2 separate regions of the Homo sapiens genome follow, and region 2 is linked to region 1. Evidence: promoter capture Hi-C in 16 types of primary human blood cells and fetal thymus (Javierre and others, 2016). All regions are on one chromosome and are shown on one strand. The core of a region is centred on a gene start or on the middle of the fragment in contact, and the rest is flanking DNA. Distances in the headings are between cores, read along the strand shown. Region 1 holds the start of C7orf33 (chromosome 7 open reading frame 33). Region 2 has its middle 27 kb from the start of CUL1.

The links. The method cuts DNA at HindIII sites, captures the fragments that hold promoters and counts their contacts. A CHiCAGO score of 5 or more calls a contact.
Region 2: a fragment that was not itself captured here is called in contact with the fragment with the promoter of C7orf33 in region 1 in 9 of 17 cell types (activated CD4 T cells, M2 macrophages, naive CD4 T cells and 6 more); the score reaches 10.0 in activated CD4 T cells.

What each region holds. Positions count from the first base shown.
Region 1 is chr7:148,588,473-148,593,912 of GRCh38, reverse strand. C7orf33 (chromosome 7 open reading frame 33) reads right to left here and starts at 3,147. Exons shown (of 3, transcript NM_145304.4): 1 at 2,784-3,147. The coding sequence starts at 2,987. The HindIII fragment of the contact is 1,806 bases long and covers 2,399-4,204 here.
Region 2 is chr7:148,668,853-148,674,292 of GRCh38, reverse strand. No RefSeq gene overlaps it. Among named protein-coding and RNA genes, the nearest start is that of CUL1, 27 kb to the left of the region's middle. The HindIII fragment of the contact is 5,093 bases long and covers 428-5,440 here.

The DNA.
Region 1 (5,440 bases), core at 1,898-4,397:
CCCATGATCCAATCACCTCTCATTAGGCCCCACCTCCAACACTAGGGATCACATTCCAGCATGACACTTAGCCGGGCAAATATTCAACCATGTCACTTCTTTTCCAGCAGGCATCTCTCTGGGCTCTGACCCTTTCCTGTCAATCCCAGTTGGGAGTCTCCGTTTCTACAATCCCCTCCAAACAGGCTGTATCCCCCGACCCTGGCTTCATGCTCAGCCTTTCCTAAATGCATTAAACACCCAGTCAGAGGAAAAGCATTTTGACTTCAAATTAACATTTAAAATAAAAACTAACTTTAAAACATGTTATTATGAAGGCAATAGAGATTCTCTATTTAAAGAAATTCAGGCCAGTTGCAGTGGCTCACACCTGTAATCCCAGCACTTTGGGAGGCTGAGGCAAGCAGATGATTTGAGGTCAGGAGTTCGAGACCAGCCTGGCCAACATGGTGAAACCTCGACTCTACTAAAAATACAAAAAAATTAGCTGGGAGTGGTGGCAGGTGCCTGTAATTCCCGCTACTTGGGAGGCTAAGGCAGGAGAATTACTTGAATCCAGGAGGCGGATGTTGCAGTGAGCCAAGATTGAGCCATTGCACTCCAGCCTGGGTAACAAGAGCAAGACTCCATCTCAAAATGAATAACAAAAATAAAGAAATTCAGAACATTCTGAGCTTTGGAAAAATAATACGTAACTCATAGTGCCATCCATAGACAACCACTTTGAGACTTTGCTGTATCTTCCAGTGATCTAATTAGATTTAAATCGTGTCGGCCAGGCATGTTGGCTCATGCCTGTAATCCCAGGACTTTGGGAGGTGAGGTGGGTGGATCACTTGAGGTCAGCAGTTTAAGACCAGCCTGGTGAACATGATGAAACCCTGTATCTACTAAAAATACAAAAATTAGTAGGATGTGGTGGTGGGTGCCTGTAATCCCAGCTACTGGGGAGGGTGAGGCAGGAGAATCATTAGAACTCAGGAGGTGGACGTTGTAGTGAGCTGAGATCGTGCCATTGCACTTCAGCCTGGGTGACAAGAGTGAAACTCCATCTCAAAAAAACAATAATAAAAAAAAGATTTAAATCATATCTACCCTGCTGGGGCACAGTGGCTTCCACGTGAAATCCCAGCACTTTGGGAGGTTGAGGCAGGCAGGTCACCTGAGATCAGGAGTTTGAGACCAGCCTGGCCAACATGGTGAAACCCTGTCTCTACTAAAAATACAAAAATTAGCTGGGCATGGTGGCGTGCACCTGTAATCCCAGCTACTTGGGAGGCTGAGACAGGAGAATCGCTTGAACCCAGGAGGCAGAGGTTGTAGTGAGCCAAGATCACGCCACTGTACTCCAGCCTGGGCGACAGAGCTAGACTCCATCTCAAAAAAAAAAAAAAAATCCTATCTACCCTATATGCTCCACCCATGCACTTGTGGCATCCTTTAAAAGGAAGGTTTAGGCAGTGATAATCTTTTCTCACCTTCTTTTAAGCACATATACGTCATTGATTATCATTTATATTCATCATTCAGAGACTAATTGTATTGGTTCACATCAAAGTACCCCTGGCTGAGGAGGTATTTTCTTCTTTTTACTCTTCTTATGCTAAATGGGCTTTCCCTGACATGGGCTGTCTGCATCTGACCTTAGCAGCAGGCAGACACAACCCCCTTGCTGACCCTGCAGTTCATGCTGCTGTTCTCAGGGAAAGGTCATGAAATCCTCTCTGCCCTCGAATGACCAGAGTCATTCTTCATATCAGAAGATACTCTGAGCCTGTGGCATGTGTCAGTTTGGGGCACTGTGCCACAATGAGGGTGTGGGCAAATGGGAAGAAGCCAGGAACTGCAACATGGGAGAAAACAAATTAGGGCTGGAGAACTAGGTGGGGACACCTGTGGTTCCCATCAAACTGAACACCCAAAGCTGGAGATAAATACAAAGTGGGAGCTCATACTTTAACCAAAAATGCCTGCCTAGTGGGAGGCAGGGGCTTGGGGATCAGGAGGTGTCAAAGATCAAAGACAGGCAAAGAGTTAAGGATCCAGGTCTTGCTGGGCATGGGTGGCACTTCGGGATGTTGAAGTGGGAGGATCGTTTGAGGACAGGAGTTCAAGACCAGCCTGGGCAACATGGCAAGACCCCATTTCTACAAAAAATAAAAAAATTAGCTAAGCCTGATGGCACATGGCTGTAGTCCTAGCCACCCGGGAGGCTCCTCTGGGAGGATCACTTGAAGCCAGGAGGTTGATGCTGCAGTGAGCTATGATTGTGACACTGCACTCCAGCCTGGGTGACAGAGCAAGATACTATCTCTAAAACAACAACAACAACTCCTGGTCTTTAAAGCGAGAGAAGAGACAAGAATCTAGGCAAGGAGAAGGGAACAGGTGCAAAGCTTGTGCCAAAGGGTGACCAAGATAGAGGCTTCCTGTGGACCCATCTCCAGGGCAAAACATAGTCTGAGAACAAGCGCATTCCTTCTACCACACTGTGTGAAAATATACAATTTTTACGCTGGAATTTTTCAAATCAACATGACTCAGGCTAAACACAAGAATACTCAGTGGAGTGTTTTGTGAGGATTCTTTTCCCTAAGAAGATTCCAGGCCTTCTTTGGGGCAGTGAATTAATCTCTGTCTCTCTCTTTACTTCAATGTCGTTAAGCCCAGTTCCATAACACATAGTAGAGAGTCAAAAACATTCATGGATTGAGTGAATGAATTCTCAAGAGATACTGACTGACTCAAAGAGCAGTTGATTCATCTTAGAATCATTAACTTACCTTATGTCTTCCCGTGGCATATGACAAGTTAAATTGACCTGGACCGCCCCTAACGTGGACCCAAACAGCGACTGCCCTCCCACTCAGGCGAAGGTCAATCCGGCGCCTTGCCCCACTGGGCAGGAGGGCTTCACATTCACATTGGGGGCCTGGAAGTCTCCAGGGACACTCTTCAAGGCTGAGGCTTTGAACTTCCACTTGCATTTTGGCAAAGGTAATTACCTTTCCTGGATGCTGTCAAGGAGAGCGGCGCTTCACCACCAATATCTAAGATCAAGTCGCACGGATCCCCAGGGTCAGTAGGAGGATTCAGACACAGGCTGGGCGCCTCGCTCCTGACCACTGGATTGGCATCACCATAAGTAAGGTCACAGCTGAGTAGAAAATGCCTGAGGCAAAGTGGGGGTGAAAGAGGGGCCACCGAGCAGTGTGATAGGCAGCCCCTTCCGCCAGCTCATTATCCCCACCTGCTCCTGTCGTCTCCTATTAGAATCCTAATGCGAGTTTACGGAAAGTCAGCTGGAGCTTGTCCTCCATGTAATTCAGATCACGTTGCCTGCAGCTCTTAGGTACTCAAATAAACAGAAGGACTAATATTACTACTGAAAAAGTAATTAAGGGCATTCATTGTAAAGTAATAATGATTACCTCACCCTCACCATATGGCCAGAACTGATTAACACCTAGAAGAAATGATCTAAAACCTCTACAATCAGAATTAATGTCTCAGGTCATAATGAGAAACATTTTGTAGCGGGGTTTGGCAGGGAAGGATGAAAAAGTGGTTGGGAGTTTACTAAATCAAGAGGCACAAACAAAATATTGAGGATAACATCCTTTTTCAGGATTTTTCATCTCATTCAGATTAGACAAGTTGCATTTTTAGTGTAGAACCCATATCACAAATGCAAAAAATATTACAAGATTTACACATTGGAATTGTCACTTAATTGGATGAGTTTTTCCTCCATTGTTTCTTTTATAATGATGAGGAATTGATGGAAGAATCTCCATCGAGGCTGGCAGTTTCTTAAATCACCAGGGAAGGGCTTAGCCCACTGATTGAAAATCTTCTTATCGTAAATTACTGGTTAAAATGCTATTTGTTGTCAGGAGTATCATGGAGTGTGATTTAATCTCTTAAGATTAGTTAAAGTGGTAGAAATGTTAGCATTTCTGGGTAATGCCAAACAGGTTAGCATTACAAAAGATGCCTAGAAAGATACGGACCCATTTGGAAGACAAGGTTGCTGTAAAAGCCAGTTTGCAGGTGCACCGTGGGGGGTGACAGGATGCCCTGGGCTGTTCTTGATTAGTGCGTGTGCCCTAGGGTCATGTGGTGAAGCATAAGGAAGCAGAATTTGGGATATTTTTCCCACCAGAATCCCTAAGATTACTCTGTGTACTGCTGGGGAAAAGCTTAATGGGCTCAACACCACCCTTGAGGGAAGGCAATAATGGAATCTCTTTTTTCTGCAAATACTTCCTTGGGTGGTGCATCATGATTCCCTGAGGCAGGATTTCCTGCAGCAGAGCTGGAGGGGCTGGAGGGGCTGGTGGGGCTGGTGGGGCTGGTGGGGCTGGAGGGGCCAGAGGGGCTGGTGGGGCTGGTGAGTCTAGAGGTGCTGGAGTTCCAAGAACTTGGCCTGGAATCTTGAACCTGCAGCCATACATTCGGACTCTAGCTTTGCCTTTTTACTTATCTGTCTTTGACCACTAAAGAAATAGACAGACCTCATAATATTATTTCCTCGACTGCCTCTTAAAAGTCAAAACCTTAAGTTAAGGACACCTCACATTTTGGTCAAGACCAGTGGACCTAGGTAAGAGTAAATCAGAGAATTCCCAAGGTGGAAGAAGTTATTCCTAGACAACGAATGAATCCCCTGGATTTGGGTTGCGGAGTGAGGTGACCAGCTGGTCACCCTGGGGGTGGACTGAGCCAAATGCCTAAGCCTCATTGTTGTTTTAATAACCCAAGTTGGATTCAGGGAGTACCTGTGCAATTCTGTGATTAGCACATCGGGCAGTGAGATTTCCGCACGTTGTAGCTGAGAGGCCGGCTGCTGAGACGACCCCTTAGGGAAAAGTGGAAAACTCTGCCTCCAGAATGGAGATCTGGCTTTCTCTTCCCCTGCTCAACCTGAGCTCAGGGATTCTGTGCCCCTCGCTCTCCGGACAGTTTTTACACCAGATTATCTTCTAATTGCTGTGAATGCAGCCGCATCAGCAAGTCCCCATCTGGGGACATTATCAATTTCAAACCTTGGTCAGTCATGAAGCCCCATTGAAGGACTTCATCCTGAAATCCACGAACAAAGAACGAGATCCCGCAATGCTGTCATCTAAAATGCCTGAAAATGCCAGTGCTGCGACAGATGGCCCTGCTCGGTGTAAGTGACAATGCCCCCAGCAGGCCATTGATTCTGTTTGTGAAATTTAAATATCTGAACAATGACTGATGGTGCTAGGGAGAAGTGTACCTTCAATCCCCCCGACTCCCACCCCCGCCAGGGTTCAGCATATCTCAGTAGTCCTAGTAAAAATAGGTCAGTAAACAGCCTTATTTATGGTGAATGCTTGGGGTCCCTAGGTCATTGAGCCACGAACACTCGTGGAACTGAGGTGTGGCTGGGGATGGGGTTGGAAATAACTCG
Region 2 (5,440 bases), core at 1,725-4,224, 81 kb before region 1:
CTGGGCCATCTTGGTCAAGTCACTATCCATTGAGACCTCAAAAGAGAATGATTGTGATGATCCTACGTAACAGTTTTGATGTGCTGATCAAAATGAGACATTGCATATCAAATGTTTTGGACCAGTATTATGCTCCAAAAAAGAGTAATTACTTTTATTTAACCTTAAGACAAATTATGGAATGCAAGACCATGACTCTTCCTGATTACCTTTCAAATATTCAGAACAGTGGAGAATTTCTTCTGAAATCAAACCACAGAGGCCAACCCCTTGGCACAACGCTGGACCCAGGCACATAAGAAGACCTTAACATGTACACTCCCAAGAGCAGTAAAATAATAACTCTCTACTTTATTTTAAAGACAAGCAAAGGGAGGTTAAATATAATGGAATTATTATAGAAGAAAAACTGCTGTGTTCATAAGCTTTAATTAAGATTTCTAGCTGTTTAGATAGATGAAATAGTTAAAGATATAGGTGTGTGAAAGGACAGGGTTAAATCAAGTGTTTTTAGCCAAAACATTTGAGTATAGAATAATTATTGTAATAAAAGCATGATGTCAAATCAGATCTCAGCAAGCAATTTTTTGAAACTGATGATTCATATTAATGTCAAAGAAGGATGAAAAGAAAGAAAGAAAGTTACAGAAAAGGTTTCTCAAGAATTTCTGAGTTTCTGAGGCAACTTTAGCCCAGCTTTAAAGCTCCCAATATTTATATTTTGCACAAATTTAATAGGCAGGATGTTCAAGTGCTAGTGAACAATGTAAAAAAAACCCCTCCAAACTGCAAATACCATATGATATTCAATATTTTAGGATGACTTTAGCAATCATTACATAAGGTATATTACAAGTATTTTCAACAGGATTATTTGAAAATAGTACTTTGTTGAGAGATGATTTTTTTTTTTGAGATAGAGTTTTGCTCTTTTCACCCAGTACAAAGAAGTACAATGTACATTGGAGTACAATGGCACAATCTCAGCTCACTGCAACCTCCACCTCCCGGGTTCAAGCAATTCTCTTGCCTCAGCCTCCCAAGTAGCTGGGATTGCAGGCATGTGCCACCACGCCTGACTAATTTTGTATTTTTAGTAGAGATGGGGTTTCACCATGTTGGCCAGGCTGGTCTCAAACTCCTGACCTCAGGTGATCTGCCTGCCTCAGTCTCCCAAAGTGCTGGGATTACGGGCATGAGCCACCACGGCCAGACAAGAGATGAATTTTCTAAACCTATCAATTTTTAAAATTGATTTGTATTGACAAAGAAACTAAGACTACTAAGAGTTTTGCTTATTTGTCTAGTTTTAATGTCAGCAATGATGTGGGCTCTGCCAAAATCAGGTGTTATCATTTAAAAACATGATTTGTAGATGCAAAATTGTATAATATTGTATCTGCTGCATATCACTTCCATCTACCCAATGGAGACCTCAATCTTTGAACTATAGTAGTCCTCGGAATTAATGTTCTTTATGATGGCTTTAATATATGTACACAGTATTTTTCTTCTTTTAAGACAGGGTCTCACTCTGATACCCAGGCTAGAATGCAGTGGTGTTATCTTGGCTCACTGCAACCTCCACCTCCTGGGCTCAAGAAGCAATCCTCCCACCTCAGCCTCCCAAGTAGCTGGGACTATAAGCACATGGCACCATGCCCAGCTAATTTTTTGTATTTTTTTTTTTTTGTACAGACGGGGTGTTGCCATGTTGCCCAGGCTGCACAATATTTTTATACTCCTCCATTTAAGAGGTGGAACCAAATTCCTTTTACTTTGAAAGTACACTAGACTTAGTGACTTGCTTCAAATAAGTAGAATAAAATGGAAGCAGGGATGTGAACCTTGGGATACTTGGGAGAACATACTGCCAAAAGGCAGTATGGTTTCTTCTTTGCTCACTTTCCCTTGGATTTCTCTCTCTGAGGGAAGTTAGCTGCCATGTTGTGAGGAGGTCCCCATGTGGTGAGAAACCAAGGCCTACAGTCATGTGAGGGTGGTAGATTCAGGAGGCAGATAAGGGAGCCTGCACAGGGTCTTGCCTGGGCATGCCCACAACAGACTGGAGGCCCACTTGCACTGGGGGAATGGGGTGGAGCCACCAGGAACTCATGCCTTATGCAGAGAGAGGAGCCTGGCCTCTCCAGCTCGTGTGTGGTGGCCTGGTATTCAGTCTGCGATGTGGCAGCCTGTTGGCAGGATCCCCTCTTTCTTTGCTGAGAGCTTTCTTTTCACCAAATAAATCTGCCTTCCTTAACCTTCGATGTTCCACATGCCTAATTTTTCCTGGTTCTGAGACAAGAACCCAGATTTTAGCTGAACTAAGGAGCAAAAAAATCCTGCATCAAGGGCACCATATTAGAAGTGGATCCTCCAGCCCCAGTCAAGCCTTCAGATGACTATAGCCCCTGCCGACCTCCTGCCCAAGACTGTAAGAGAGACCCTGAGCCAAAACCGCTCAGCTCAGCCATGTCCAAATTCCCAACCTACAGAAAACGTGAGATCATAAATATTTGCTGCTTTAAGCCACCAAGTTTTGGGGTAATTTGTTACATAGCAATAGATAACTAATACAGTCTTGGAAGTAACAAATATCTTTTCTGTGTCCACCAGGAGAAGATCACCCAGGGTAAAGCACCTTTCCATTAATATGCTACTCTAATATCTGACAAGACTGTAGAATTCATCAGACTTCTAATACCACATGGAACTGGGTCAGGGCTGGAGGGAGCATTTGAGGCCAGCCAATCCAAGAAAGGCTCTCATCCTTTCCCCCACTGTATCAGTTTCCTACTGCTACTGTAACAAATTACCATGCGTGTAGTGGCTTTAGATAACACAACTGTATTATTTTACTGTTCTGGAGGTCAGAAATCTACACTCTATCTGCAGGGCTATGATCTTTCTGAGGGCTTCAAGGGAGAATCCATTTCCTTGTCTTTTCCAACTTCTAGGGGCTGCCCACACTCCTTGGCTCACTGCCCTACATCACTTTGACCTCTGCCTCCAATATCACATCTTCTTTGACCCTCACGCTCCTGCCGTCCACTTAGAAGGAACTTTATGATTATTTGGGCCCACCCAGGCAATCTGGAATAATCTCAAGAGTGAAGATCCTTAGCTTAATCATATTTGCAAAGTCCCTTTTGCCATGTAAGGTAACATATTCCCAGGTCCAGGGATCAGCTATGGACATCTCTGAGTGGCCAGTTTTCTGCTACTGTGCTTACCATTGCTCACAGTTCAAAATGCAGAGCCAGCTGGCTCTCTGCTCTCTTCCGTTTGCAGAGCAGCACCACACCACCAACCCCTCTTTACTCTATCTGAGGGGCCTTCTGATTTCCTGTTTTCCCACATGCTCATCTGCTTTGGAGAGGGCCCTTCATAGTTCCTCGTTTTAACTGAAACCCGAATCTTCCCTAAGAACACGGCTTCCACTACACTTCTCTGAGAGCTGAGTTTTCAAACTCATGTGCTGTGCTGGCCACAGGACAGGAAGGATTTCTGTATCATCCTAATTTTGGATTGTCATTTCCAAGGCATTCATCTTTGCCCCTCATTCATGTCTTCTTCATTTAAGAATTATGCTACCTTCCTCGCTTACCACTGACATTTATCAACTACATCTATTATTTTTTGCTCCTTTCCAAAACTCAACATTTCTCTTCATCCTGCTATTTTCCTAGGGCACTGCAGAGTATATGAACATGACTCATCTCGTGCAGTGTCCTGAGCTCCTCTCAGCCTCAGCTCCAGTGACTTTACCTCCACGCTTATGATCATACTCTAAACCTTTCTTCATCATTGTCTAAAAGTCTTCCTCCTCTCAAAGTTTAAAGGGCAAGATTCCATTCTCTCATCACAACTTTCCTATCGTTCCAGCCATCCCATTCCTCATTCCTACAACACCCCATCACCACTAGCAATGACTCTAATACATAATATGTTTGTAACAGTTTAAAAAATTATTCCCTCCTCAAAAAAGTTAAGCATAGAATGACCGTATGATCTAGCAATTTGTCTTCTGGGTACATACTCAAAAGAACTGAAAGCTGGGATCTGAACAGATATTTGTACACCCAAGAAGCAGCATAATTTACAACAGCCAACAGAAAAAGCAACCCAGTGTCTGTCAACAGCTGAATGGATTAACAAAATGTGGCCTATCTATACAATGGAATATGAGTCAGCCTTACAAAGGAAGGAAATTCTGATGCGTGCTACAACAGATGAATCTTTAGGTTTAGGATATTATGTTAAATGAAATAAGCCAGATACAAAAGGACAAATACAGTATGATTTCACTTATATGAGGAATCTAGAATAGGCAAATTCACAGAAACAGAAAATAGAGGGCCAGGCGCAGTGGCTCACACCTCTAACCCCAGCATTTTGGGAGACTGAGGCAGGCAGATCACTTGAGGTCAGGAGTTCAAGACCAGCCTGGCCAACATTGTGAAACCCCGTCTCTACTAAAAATACAAAAATTAGCCAGGTATGGTGGTGCGTGCCTGTAATCGCAGCTACTCGGAAGGCTGAGGTGGCGGGATCGCTTGAACCTGTTAGGCAGAGATTGCAATGAGCTGAGATGGCGCCACTGTACTCCAGCCTGGGTAAAAGAGTGAGACTCTGTCAAATAAATAAATAAATAAATAAATAAATAAATAATTAAAAAAGGTAATAGAATGGTGGTTGCCAGGGGTTGGGGAAAGGGGGAGAATTGGGAGTTAGTATTTAATGAGTACGGAGTTTCAGTCTGGGAAGATGCAACAGTTCTGGACATGGATGGTGGTAATGGTTGAACAACAGTGTGAATATGCTTGATGCCACTGAACCGTATATCTAAAAATAACTAAAATGGTAAATTTTATGTTATATATTTTACCACAATAAAAAACTATCCCCATTTTTCAGGTGAGAAAATCAAGGCTGAGAGAGGCTAAATATCTTGCCCAAGATCCAATGAAGGTCATTTAATTTGCTAGTGTTTTCAAGTGGGAAATCAAGGCTCAGAGAGGTTAAATATCTAGCCAAAGAGCTGATGAAGGTCATCTACTTTGCCAGGGTCAGTGTTGGAGCTAGGATTTGGACCTGAGCAGTTCGACTCCAGAGCTCACACTCTTAATCACTATCCCATTAAGAATTACCAACACTCTGACTCTCACTTGTTTCTCATTGTATCGCCACCTTTCCAGTCTGCCTCTGCCCCTTGGAATTCTTAAATACCTCCACACTTCCAGCTATCCAGGCAAATGGGCTCCCATAGCCTGGGGTCAGCCCCAGGGCTTATAGGTGCAGGTGCTGGCTGTAGGCCGTGAACACTGAAATGGTGAAGGATCTGGGGGACTTGGCAGAGCATCGTGGGCACCTGCCCCACCTGTACGTCTTTGGACTGCTCTAGTTTCCCCTCTCCAGGGAGGCCTGTCCAAACCCTGCC